2 separate regions of the Homo sapiens genome follow, and region 2 is linked to region 1. The links are contacts of gene promoters, found by promoter capture Hi-C in human tissues and cell types (Jung and others, 2019). All regions are on one chromosome and are shown on one strand. Each heading gives the region's core, a stretch centred on a gene start or on the middle of the fragment in contact. The rest is flanking DNA. Distances are from core to core; before and after follow the strand shown.

Region 1 (6,538 bases), core at 2,365-4,864:
AGCCATTTCCAAAAGGGGAAGCTATCTGCTGAATGTTCAGGTTCCCAGATCTTTTGGATTAGAGGATGCCCATGGGCCTGTCACAGGCCTCTGAAAGGCCACATGGGCTCACCTGTCTGGATGGCATTCAGGGCTGCATCCTTCTCCCACTGGAAAAGATTGTTCACTTGAGCACCAAACTCCTCTCTATGCATTGCCTTAGCCACTTCCACCAGCTCTGTCTGCCTAGCAGGGAACACTGGGCGGGCTGTGTTACCTAGGATGGGAGAGGATGAGTAACCAGGGGGAAGTGAGAAGGCCCTAAAACTAAGAGAAGGGGCCATGTCCAAGAGTAACCCAGTCTCCTCCTCCTGGGGCAAGTCAAGGACAGTGAATAGTAGTGAGAACAGGACAGGGGAGAGGACAGGTACAATTACAGCTAACTCCTTTCTTCTTCTTCTTCTTGCCTAGTTGGTGTCCAGGTTGGGCTGTGTGAGCAGTGCTGTCACTGGCATCTACTCCCTTTTCAACCTCTCCTGCTTCTTCCTCCTGCTTTTCGGTTGTGTCCACTTGGACCTGGGATGAAGGGCCTGAAAGACAGTGTTCTGGAAGGCTCTCAGATTCAGAGAGATGGGTAGACCTCCTTGTCCATGGGACCTCATTGGAAGAAGACTCAGAGGAGAGGTCTTCCTTCAGAGTATCAGAAGAAGACAGACAGACATAGTCTCGTGATTGGGGAGGAAGAGTAAGGTGTTTCTCTGGCACCACTGAGATGGGACTATCCAATGAAGCCTCATAGGTAGGGGTCTCTGAAGGAGTCTCAGAGATGGAAGGCTCCTGATGGGTTTCAGGGGAATGGGCCTCTAAGGGGATCTGGGAAGGGGATGGCACCAAAGGGGATTCAGAGGTATGGGGCTCTAACGGGGTCTCAGAGGTGGAAGGCTTCAAGAAGCTTTCAGAGATATGGTTCTCCTGTAAGTCCTCAGCAGAGGGGTCCTTTGAAGGGGGGTGCTTCTCTGCATCCATGGTGATATGAGGCTCTTCTATGATCTCATGTGCTTCCATCTAGTGGTAGAACAGGGTACAGGCTTCATTAGGTTGGAAATAGAGGGCCGGCAAGTCAGGGCAGAGCCCAGGGTTCGCAGTGCATTATGGAATTTGGATAAGGATATCAGTGCAGCTGAGATATAAGAGGGAAACAACATGAACTCTGGGTCCTAGAGTGTGATGCCAAAAGGTTCACCCATGTGTCCAGACCTCATATGGCATGCTGCTGTGGCTTGTTAGGGAGCTGGAACTTAAAGATTGAAAGACTGAAGTAGTTCGAATCCCATCAGTAGATGGTAGCAGAGAACCATGTCCCAGGAGGGAGTCTGAACAACACCACTTGGGCAGTCCAAGAGCAGGGTCCTTGGCATATCTTAAAACCCTGGAGGTCAGACCATGGAGTTCTAGAGACTGGCAATACCAAGCCAAAGTTGGGGTTGGCTCCTGAGAGTGCAGGGGAATGCTGTCACATAAGGCAAGACACTGCACGCAGCCTGGTTTTGTCTAGGCACCACACACATCCTCCTCCCTTAATGATGTCATTCATGTTCAAAGCTTTAACTACTTCCAGTTGTGTACCAATGACTCCTAAATTCACATTTCTAGCTCAGACCTTTTTCAACCTCTGTACTTCACACTCATACCCACCTGCCTGCTGGCCTTCTCTTCTCTTCTCTTTTTGTGATGGAGTCTCGCTCTGTTGCCCAGACTGGAGTGCAGTGGCGCAATCTCGGTTCACTGCAACCTCCGCCTCCCGGGTTCAAGTGATTCTCCTGCCTCAGCCTCCCAAGTAGCTGGAATTACAGGCGTGTGCCACCATGCCCGGCTAAGTTTTATATTTTTAGTAGAGACGGGGTTTCACCATGTTGGTCAGGCTGGTCTTGAACTCCTGACCTCAGGTGATCTGCCCTGCTTGGCCTCCCAAAGTGCTGAGATTACAGGAGTGAGCCACCGTGCTTGGCCCCTGCTGGTCATTTCTAACTGAGTGTTTCCACAGACAGCAAAACTGAACTTTGGGAATTATCCTAGTCTTTTCCTTTTCCCTTAGACTCCATCTTCAAATAGGCACCAATAACTCTATTTCCTATCTTCTAAATATTCCCCAAATGCATTCTCTCCTCTCCCTTCCAATTTTATTCAAGTTCTCATCATCTTCAGCCTTTGTGTAATAACTTTGCCCCTCTACTTCCATCCACAGCATTTTAATCCATTCACCCATTCTTTCATGGATTTATGTAACTTATACTTTTACAATGAGCCTAATCTGATGCTTTTACTGACCCGCTGTGCTAAGCTCTAGATTGAGTTGAGTCTAGGAGAGAGACCGATTAACCAACAATGGCAATACAAATAAATTGATGTTGTTCTGGGGTGAGTCTAGGATACGGTGGGGAGGGGGATATACCTAATTTATCCTGCAAGGATGTAGTCCTCCTTCCTGACCCAATCAGGATCTTTCTAAAGTGCAAGCCCAACAACTGGCACTTTGTGGCTTAAAAACATTCCATGACTCAGTCTAAAGGATTAAGTCCAAATTTCTTGGCCCTGGCATTCAAGGCCTGTCATCATTTTCAACACAGCCTGAGGATTCCTGCCTTAACTTTCCGTGCTCCCTACTTTACCCCCATGTTCCAGAGACGCTAGATATATCACTCCTTAAATGCATCAGAGCCTTTTTGAAGGGGATGTTTGGGAAGGGAATTAGGGGCAGAGGTAGGATTACAGGGAGGAAGATGACCAGAGTCAGCTAGAGAGAAAAGGGGCCTAAGAGTGGAGAACCAGAAGATGGGAGGTGAGGAAGGGGAAAGAGAAGGGGAGGAGGAAATTGGGTGGAGGAGGAGAGTAAGGATGAAAAGTACAGAATGTGGGCCAGGCATGGTGGCTCATGCCAGTAATCCCAGAATTTGGGAGGCCAAGGCGGGTGGATCACTTGAGGTCAGGAGTTCGAGACCAGCCTGGCCAACATGGTGAAACCCAGTCTCTACTAAAAATACAAAAATTAGCTGGGCATGGTGGCAGGCGCCTGTAGTCCCAGCTACTGGGGAGGCTGAAGCAAGCAAATCACTTGAACCTGGGAGGCGGAGGTTGCAGTGAGCCCAGATCGCACCACTGCACTCCAGCCTGGGGGACAGAGCGAGACTCTGTCTCAAACAACAACAACAACAACAACAACAACAACAACAACAACAACTACTACTACTACTACTACTACTACTACTACTACTACTACTACTACAACAATGTGAAGGGACTGAGGGGTGGGAGAAAGACAGATGTCTTTGAGGGAAGAGGGCAAGGGCCGTTGGAGAAACCACCTACCCTCTGGGCTTTGGCTTGGTTGTTACAAGTCCTTAGGTCAAGACCTTGACTTAGGATGGCAGGGGGAGGTGTTGATCCTCAGGGAGGAAAGGCTCTTGGTTGTGGATGTGCCTCAGCTGCAGGTGCTGAGTGTTGAAATGCCTTGCCTGAAAGTCTGCTATCTGGGAAGGGGACTTGGATATCTGCAGAACTTCGCAAAGGAGCTCTGGCATGACCTGGGGAAGTGGGTAGGGACAAGGGGTCTAGGGCCAATGAGGGAGGGTCTTGACTGAAGCCTCCGGAACCCGGGCCAGGAGAGTAGGCGCCGGTCACCAGGGCAACCGGAACGCCTAGTAGTCTCCGTGGCAACGGCGGTCTGGTCACCTCCCCGGTGGGTAAGGTCTCCTGAGGGGCTTGCATTGGGCCTCGAGGGGGCGAGCCCAGAGGGTTTACTTCTGAAAAGTGGGGTGTGTGTTGCGGGATCTCTGTGAGCGAGTGTTTGGGTAGGATCTGCGGAGATCTGTGCGTACGTCCGGGGGAGTCTGGGATTGTGAGGATAGGGTTCCTTTGAGACATCTGTGGGGCGGTCGTTGGGGGCTGTGAGGATCTGAGGGGACCTCGGGCTCTGTGCTTGGGGTGAGAAAGGCAGGGTCTCGGGTAGCTGAGGCGGGGGCGGAGTCTGTGTGTCCTCGAAGCCCAGCAGGACTAAGTTGGGGACCAATAGAGTAGGGCGGGGGCGGGCTTTACTGACAGGGACCAATCGAGCCGGCCGGGGGGCGGGGCGTCACGCCGACGTCAAGTCGAGGCCGCCGCCGCGGGGCCTGGTTATCGCCGGTTCAGCGCAGCCCGGAGTCGCCCAGGCCTGAACTCCTACCCAGGTCCCCGGCCCCCGCCCCGGGCCCGCGAGGACACCGGAGGCCACCCCCCGGGGGTGGGGAGCGGAGCCGCGGGCCAGCTCTGCGAGCGCCCCGCGCTGGCCTGTCCGGCCCCGCCCCCGCCCCGGGCCATGGCCCAGCCCTTGTCCCGGCCCCTCGTCCTATCCCAATCCCCGCCTTGGCCCCCAGCCCCGCCCTCGCCCCGCTTCCCACATCGGCCCCAGCCCCTGCCTGGGTCCCCATCCAGGACCCCCTTCCAGTCTCTGCCCCTGGCCTGGCCCCCATCCCGGCCTCGGCCCTCGTTCCACCCCCTGTCACAAATCCCAGCCCAGGCCCTGTCCCAGCCCCATTCCCAGTGTTTGCTTAAGGCCCTGGCTCAACCCCGTCCCTTGCTGCAGTCCCCATCACAGCCCTTCCTTCCATCCCACTCCCTGCCCTTGTTCAAGCCCCAGTGTCCAGCCCAGCCCAACCCATTATCTCAGCCTTTGCCCTCATCTCTGTGTTTACCCAAGTCTCTCCCTCTAGTCCCCCCTATCTCTCATACTCTGCCCCTCTCCCAGCCTAGACTCAAGTCTGGGTTTCAGCTGCCGCCAGCCCTATTGCTGCTGTTGCTGTTCTCTGTCCTTGGCCCAGGGGCTGGTGAGTGCAGAAGCAGGGAAGATTGAGGCAGGAATGGGGTTCCGGCAGGGAGGGGTGGGCTGGAGAGATTCAGGAGAGGTGGGACCTGGGGAACTAGATCATTGGGGAGCAAGTGGGAGAAATAGAGAGTAGAGAGGTCTTACACAACAGGGATTGGCAGGGTCAAAAGAGTGGTAATTAATTGGGTTTGAGGCTCAGCAGGTGGCTTACAGTTTCTAGCACAGAGACTCCAAGATTTTTTCTGGTGTCTGTCCTGACCCCACTTTGACTCTTGCTTTTCCAGGGAAATGTTGTGGGCTTTGCTCCTGCTCACAAAGTTTGATGGGGGAGAGACAGTCCCACACCAGAAGCCCCTAGTGTAGTGTGGGAATATATAGCCCAAACCTTTGAGATATTGGGCATGCATTCAAACGGCATGAAGAAGAGTTTTAAAGATAATATGTAGCAAATAGATGAATATGGATTAGTTGCCATTATAATGAGTTTTCTTCTTGTAATGATTCTTGTTCCAAAGAAGATTGATTTGCCTAGGAATAATTCCTGATACTTTTAGAGCAGGGCTGAAACTCGGAGGCTATTTTACAGATGGGGAAACTGAGGCTCAGGGAGGGAGCAATTTGTCCAAAGTCAGAGAGCTTGTGAATGGCAGTGTGCTGGGGCTAGAAAAAAGGTTTCCTAATTCCTATTTCATACTAGTGTGTTTTTTTTTATCCACTGCAATGTATACTTAATAGAAAAATAGACCCAAGTGGGGAAAGGCTCAAAGCATAACCTCCCTTCTCCCCGGTCTGCCCACAAGGGTGCTTTATCCACAAACTGTTCCTTATTTGCCAGGCGTCAGCCAAGGGCCACCCTCCGGTGGGGAAGTGACTTGGACAGAAGAGAGAGAGGTCCAATTTTTTAATGGTTGGAATGTGGGAGGAGGAGGGGGTGTCCTGGTCTAGGGGATGTGCCATGAAGATGGCTCCATCATGGAGTGACTGTAGTCTTCATGGCCCAAGTCTGTAGCCACCTCTGGTGGGTGTCACTCTAGATAGGATGGAGATGTGCCTGATGGAGTCTTTGGAAATAACAGCCAACAGAACAGCTGGGGGGTGGAGAATGGGTATCAGTGAGCTCTGGGGGCCTGGTTCAGTGTACAAACTTAAGGAGACGAATGCACGTGAAAGGTCACAACCCCTGCAGAGATGTCTGGTCACTTATGTGTATGTGTGTAACTGAGGGATTGTGGGGAGGCTGGCAGCATGTGTACATGCTTGTGTGTTGTTAAGTGTAGACACGTGCATGTGTGTGGGGTGCATGTGAGCCAGTGTATCTTCTGAGCGCCTGTGTTATGGTATGAAGGGGAGGGGACATGTTGTGGCCCATGTACATTCCTCTTCAGCTCTGCCTCCTCCTCATATGGACAGATCACTGAAGCTGTGAATGGGGCTGGAGACCCTTTCTCAGCAGTTCCAAGGGTGAGGGCAGTGTTGCATGCCTCCCATAACGAATATAAGTTATCCATCCATCCCCAGCCAGTGCCTTTGAAGGAAGGAGCTGTGGAGGCACTCTGTGTTGATTACTGCTGCTGGCAAATTGGACACTGGGCAGAGGCAGTAGCCAGTCAGGTTTTCAGTTTTGGTAAGGGGAAGTTTATGCTGTTGGGCCAAGTTCCTAGCTTCCATCCTCTGCCATCATGGCTTCTTCATGTGCCCATT
Region 2 (6,538 bases), core at 2,857-5,356, 260 kb after region 1:
GCATTGCAAGACGTTTAGCAGCCCTAACCCTCATGTACTAAATGCCAGTCGTAGTCCAACTCCTTGTGGGGTGTGATACTGTTCCTGTGGAGAACCACTGGACTATAGACTGTAAGTTGATGATTAATGACTTTATTACACTAGTGAGCACTTGAATGTCCCCGTGAGTATACCTACAGAAGTGCCGATTTTAAGTGTTCATCGTCTGTGGCATGGTTTTATTTCTCAAATTTAGAAAGACATATTGTTCCATCATTATGATGATGATTTAATGTTAACAAAAAGCTGTTTCCATGTCAGTGCCTTCTCTTTTTTTCTCCATAGTGGGCTCGGTTTGTTGCAGTTATGCAGGTCATCACACAAACTGCCGAGAATACTGTCAAGCCATTTTTCGAACAGACTCTTCTCCTGGTCCATCTCAGATAAAAGCAGTGGAAAATTATTGCGCCTCTATTAGTCCACAATTAATACATTGTGTGAACAATTATACTCAATCTTATCCAATGAGGAACCCAACGGATAGTAAGTAAAAGGGACATATTCTTCTCATTTCAATCTTTGGTAAAATCGTTTGTAAAAAGAAGTGATACGTTCTTGTAGATATCTGCAGTCTGGGTCATTTGAGAAATATCAGACTTCCTTTGGTATTTAGATTTGGCAGATTGAATAATATTGTCACAGCCAAAAGGGGCCAAGAAAGATGAAACTGTAGAGGGTATGAGGAAACAGGAATTCTCAATTCTGAGGGTGGGAGAGTTCACTGATATGGATTTTTTAGAGGGAAGTTGGGTAATGACCATTAGGATTTCAAATTATCATAAGCTTCTGATCTAGCAGTTCCATTTCTCAGAATTTATCTCATAAGAAAACTTATATAAATTTGCAAAAATAAATATATATGCATATAAACAATGTTCACTACAATGCTGGTATAATAGAGAAAAATGACAAACAACCCAAACATCCATCAATACAGCATTGATTAAAATTGATTAAGTAAATTACGGCATACCTATAGAATAATAACACTTGGCAACCAACAAAAAAAAAGGACTTCTTACGTAGAAGTCCAAGGCTGAGTGTGGTCGCTCATGCCTGTAATCCCAGCACTTTGAGAAGCCAAGACAGGCAGATCGTTTTGCGCTCAGGAGTTTGAGACCAGCCTGGGCAACATGGTGAAACCCCATCTCTACAAAAAATACAGAAATTAGCCAGGTTCACACGCTTGTGATCCCAGCTTCTTGGGAGGCTGAGGCTGGAGAATCACATGAACCTGGGAGGCTGAGGTTGCAGTGAGCCAAGATCCTACCACTGCACTCCAGTCTGGATGACAGAGAGAGAGCCTGTCTAAAAAAACAAAACAAAACAAAAAGGCCAGGCACGGTGGCTCACGCCTGTAATCCCAGCACTTTGGGAGGCTGAGGTGGGCAGATCACCTGAGGTCAGGAGTTCAAGAACAACCTGACCAACATGTTGAAACCCTGTCTCTACTAAAAATACAAAAATCAGCCAGGTGTGGTGGCACATGCCTGTAATCCCAGCTACTCGGGAGGCTGAGGCAGGAGAATTGATTGAAACTTGGAGGTGGAGGTTGCATTGAGCCGAGATTGTGCCACAGCACTCTAGCCTGGGCAACAGACCAGACATCGTCAGGAAGGAAGAAGGAAGGAAGGGATGAAGGGAGGAAGGGAGGGAGGGAGGGAGGAAGGAAGGAAGGTAGGCCCGTCCGAGTTGGCCAGCATAGTGACTCACACCTGTAACCTTAGCACTGTGGGAGGCCTAGATGGGAGGATTGCCTGAGGTCAAAAGTTCAAGACCAGCCTGGACAACATAGTGAGACCCTATGTCTCCAAAAAATTAAAAAATTAACTGGGCATGGTGGCACATAGCTGTAGTCCTAGCTACTGGAGAGGTAGAGACAGGAAGATGGCTTGAGCCCAGGAGGTCAAGGCTGCAGTGAATTATTATTGTGCCACTGCACTCCAGCCTGGGTGACAGAGCAAAACCCTGTCTCTAAAAAATAGTGAAGTCCAAGATGTATTAAGCAAAAAAAAAGTAAATCACAGAACTAAAAATATAGTGTGATATATTTTTAGTTTATACCTAATTGTTTCACTTTATATATTTTCCACAGTGTTTGAATTTTTTGCCAATGAGCAATTATTACTTTTGTAATTAAAAAGTCATAACAATGAGAAGAGAGCCTGATATCTTTTAAAAATTAGGGCCTCCTGATGAAGCTGCACCTGAAATGGCTCTTCAGAGTCTCCGCTTTGTACATCCTGGAATCCATTTTCTTCACCTAGAGGTGACCAGATTTATAAAAACTGACTGATTGACCAAACTGACCAAAGACTGATTTATAAGATGTCAATGTTTTGATTTACACTGTGATATTGAAAGAGGCTCTGTGGCTTATGTCTGTAATCTCAGCGCTTTGTGATGCTGAGGCAGGAGAATTGCTTGAGGCCAAGAGTTTGAGACCAGCCTGGGTAACAAAGTGAGAACCCAGCTCTACAAAAAAATAATAATAATAATTAGCTGGGTGTGGTGACACACCCAGCTCCTCAGGAGGCTGATGCTGGAGGATCGCTTGAGCCCAAGAGTTCAAGGTTGCAGTGAGCCATCATCACTTCACTGCACTCCAGCCAGGGCAACAAAGCAAGACCCTGCCTCGGGGGGAAAAAAAAAGATGAAAAGAAAGAAAGACTTGTTTTTTGTAACTCAGTAGCAGTACTGTGTGCCTTGTTTGGCCACCATCTAAATCAGAACTCTAATGGCTTTTGACATCCTTTGGTGTAGCTGTGTGGTCAAAATCAGAGGATGAAGCATTGCCCCAATAACCTTCATTTGTTTTAAAGGCAGATCTGTGCTCTCTGACATTTAGTCTATACGAGATACTGCTGGAGCTAAGGAGATGGCAGCTCAATAAAAAAGCAGAAAGAGGTTTTAAGGGTAGAACAACCGTCTCCATCTTTGCCAATACAGAGGAATCTGGAAAAGAAGGCGCCAAACAGATATGCACAGATTTCTTCCAAAGTCAGAGAAAACTACTTCAAAGAAGCCCTTCTGAATTCTGTAATATGGTTGAAAGTGTTTTTTTATTTCTGATTCTTTGAGAAAATTAAAGGCAGAGCCAAACTGATATCTTGTCAGAGTTCGCTACTGTACTATTTATGTTACAACTTAGATTAATTAGCATAAGATATATAAAAGCTTTATGTGGTCCTGGAATGTAATGAAATATTGTGTCTGGAATTGGTTCCTTCCGGTGGGTTCTTGGTCTCGCTGACTTCAAGAGTGAAGCCACAGACCTTCGCGTGAGTGTTACAGCTCTTAAAGGTGGCATCCAGAGTTGTTTGTTCCTCCCAGTGGGTTCGTGGTCTCGCTGACTTCAGGAGTGAAGCCGCAGACCTTCGCAGTGAGTGTTACAGCTCATGAAGGTAGTGCCGACCCAAAGAGTGAGCAGCAACAAGATTTATTGTGAAGAGTGAAAGAACAAAACTTCCACAGCATGGAAAGGGACTGGAGCAGGTTGCCACTGCTGGCTCGGGTGGCCAGCTTTTATTCCCTTATTTGGCCCCGCCCACATCTGCTGATTGGTCCGTTTTACAGAGTGCTGATTGGTCTATTTTTACAGAGTGCTGATTGCTACCTTTACAAACCTTTAGCTAGCCAGAAAAGTTCTCCAAGTCCCCACCTGACCCAGAGGCCCAGCCGGCTTCACCTCTCAATATGGTGTTTGTGTTTGTTGCTATAAAAATTAGTCATTTCTCTCATGTCAAGAACATAATCCCTTTTAGGTAATTGTTTCTAGCAGGAAATAATTCCAGTTTCATCTACAATACCTTTTCTAGGAATATCAAATACCTCTCCTGTGAGGACTTCTTAGGTGTAGGATGGCCTTTCATTTTTGTAAGGATGGTGCTAAAGATCCCATGATTGGAGACAGTGGTGAATTCTGGTAATAGATACCTTGTCCACCTAAAGCTCCTCACCTTTTTGCTACACTGCAAAGTAATAGAGAATTTGGTAGGGCCTGTATTCTGCAAATACTGACATATAACTAAGAGTAGTAATGGCTTCCACTACACTGCCATGTTCTGTGCTAAGCAGAGCATGACAAAAAAAGAAAAAAAAAACATGCACACATATGTTTATTGCAGCACTATTCACAGTAGCAAAGACTTAGAACCAACCCAAATGCCCATCAGTGACAGACTGAATAAAGAAAATGTGGCACATCTACACCATGGAATACTATGCAGCCATAAAAAAGGATGAGTTCATGTCCTTTGCAGGGACATGGATGAAGCTGGAAACCATCATTCTCAGCAAACTAACACAAGAACAGAAAACAAAATACTGCATGTTCTCACTCATAAGTGGGAGTTGAACTATGAGAACACATGGACACAGGGAGGGGAACATCACACACCAGGGCCTGTCAGGGAGTTGGGGGCTAGGGGAGGGATAGCATTAGGAGAAATACCTAATGTAGATGACAGGTTGATGGGTTCAGCAAACCACCATGGCATGTGTATACCTATGTAACAAATCTGCACATTCTGCACATGTATCCCAGAACTTAAAGTACAATAAAAACAAACAAAAAAAACAGCTAATTAAGCCACTTATATTCTGAAAATGTAGGTTTATATTGCTGTGACAGAGCTGAAGACCATGCTTGCCAAAATGCCTGCAAGAGAATCCTGATGTCCAAGAAAACGGAAATGGAGATTGTTGATGGTCTCATCGAGGGTTGTAAGACCCAGCCCTTGCCTCAAGATCCTCTTTGGCAATGTTTTCTTGAAAGCTCACAATCTGTTCACCCTGGAGTCACTGTACACCCTCCTCCCTCTACAGGCCTCGATGGGGCTAAATTGCATTGTTGTTCTAAAGCAAACACTTCAACATGTAGGTTAGTATTTCATTTTCCTTTACCAAAATCAGTAGAAAATGGCATTTTAATTAATGATTTTAAGCCTAGCAAACGTGTGTTATATTCTTACGTGGTATAGGTTTAGCATTTAGAAAATATAAAATATTATTTCATCCAACAAATGTGTATTGAGCATTGTGTACCGTATACAAAACATTGTTCTGTATATTGAGTGCTAAAAGCTCTGTGTTTTGGGGTGTGGAGGATTAGCATTGGCAGGGTAGTAAATATTTAAGATGATGCAATAGATGAATTCTATCCTTATAGAGATCATTAAGTAAGCTTACAGTTTAGAAGATGTTTTGATCTGACATCTAAGGGACATTCTCTTTATTAAATTATGAAACTTTGAACTTTTTATTATATTGGTGGATAACCTGGGTTAGCACTTATAACCAGAGTTAGGTGGTAGCATATTGGCATTCATCTTGGTGATACACTTAGAGATGAAAAATTAACAATACAAATATAGGATGTAGGAATTGCAGTCTAGAGACAAAAACAAATGGAGATACCTAAGATCATGGTAGAACACAGGTACAATAGAAATGTGCTTTATTAGAGATATTTGGGGTAAAAAGGGACCCCATGTTACTCGGATATCCTGAAATGAATATAAGATACCAGGCGTAAAACAATCTTTCCTGTGGTTTCTAAATTGGATGGACCTTTAGCAAAAAATTTTGCCTAGAATAGCTCATCAGACTTTGGTAATTGTCAATCAAACTTTGGCAAATTTTTTAAAAGACATGAAGGTCGGGCGCGGTGGCTCATGCCTGTAATCCCAACACTTCAGGAGGCTGAGGCAGGGGATCACCTGAGATCAGGAGTTTGAGACCAGCCTGGCCAATATGGTGAAACCCTGTCTCTACTAAAAAATATACAAAATTTAGCGGGGCGTGGTGGCACATGCCTGTAATTCCAGCTACTTGAGAGGCTGAGGCAGAAGAATCACTTGGACCTGGGAGGCAGAGGTTGCAGTGAGCCGAGATTGCGCCACTGCACTCCAGCCTGAGTGACACAGTGAAGACTCCGTCTCAAAATAAATTAATTAATTAATTAAAGACATGAAAAAGAGCGAGACTCTGTCTCCAAATAAATAAATGAAAGACGTGAAAAATCTCCAAAGAAAATTAACAAAAAGGCTTAAAGGGAAATTAAATTAGGCTTGTAATTAAGGAAATTAGATTGCTTGTAGAAGTTAATAAATATATTTATGGGAAGGATGCTGAGTGTTTCTTTGAATGCCCACAAAAAAGTTTACACCTACGTAGAGTCACTAGAGGTTGGAATGGCCGTGTTGTCCCAAAAGAGCTTCAGTAAGGAAGGCTTTTCCTTCTCTCTAACCTTGATACAGGGTTTTATGGTTTGCTGAAGGCTTGCATTTTCATCAGATTTCATCTTCATAAAACCTTAGGAGATAATTGGAGAAATTTATGTAATTTTTCTTTTACACTTAATAAACTAACTATGAGATGTTAAATAACCTGTCCAAGGCAAATACAGATTGACCACCCTTAATCCAAAAATCTGAAATCCAAAATGCTCCAAAATCAGAAACGTTTTGAGTGCTGACATGACACCACAAGTGGAAAA

What was found. Contacts are between HindIII fragments. The study calls those that stand out against the background at their distance.
Region 2: a contact is called between a fragment that was not itself captured here and the fragment with the promoter of FAM221B in region 1, in 2 of the 25 tissues and cell types used here (dorsolateral prefrontal cortex and mesenchymal stem cells).

Annotation. Positions count from the first base shown.
Region 1 is chr9:35,825,118-35,831,655 of GRCh38, forward strand. It overlaps FAM221B (family with sequence similarity 221 member B), which reads right to left and starts at 3,615. Exons shown (of 7, transcript NM_001012446.4): 1 at 3,346-3,615; 2 at 447-1,044; 3 at 113-256. The coding sequence starts at 1,044. It overlaps TMEM8B (transmembrane protein 8B), which reads left to right and starts at 4,111. Exons shown (of 13, transcript NM_001042590.4): 1 at 4,111-4,838. The coding sequence starts at 4,331. RefSeq lists enhancers at 980-1,339, 4,703-5,203 and a silencer at 3,968-4,417. The HindIII fragment of the contact is 23,285 bases long and covers 1,257-6,538 here.
Region 2 is chr9:36,083,041-36,089,578 of GRCh38, forward strand. It overlaps RECK (reversion inducing cysteine rich protein with kazal motifs), which reads left to right. Exons shown (of 21, transcript NM_021111.3): 8 at 325-522; 9 at 4,654-4,921. Among named protein-coding and RNA genes, the nearest start is that of RECK, 49 kb to the left of the region's middle. The HindIII fragment of the contact is 4,175 bases long and covers 2,020-6,194 here.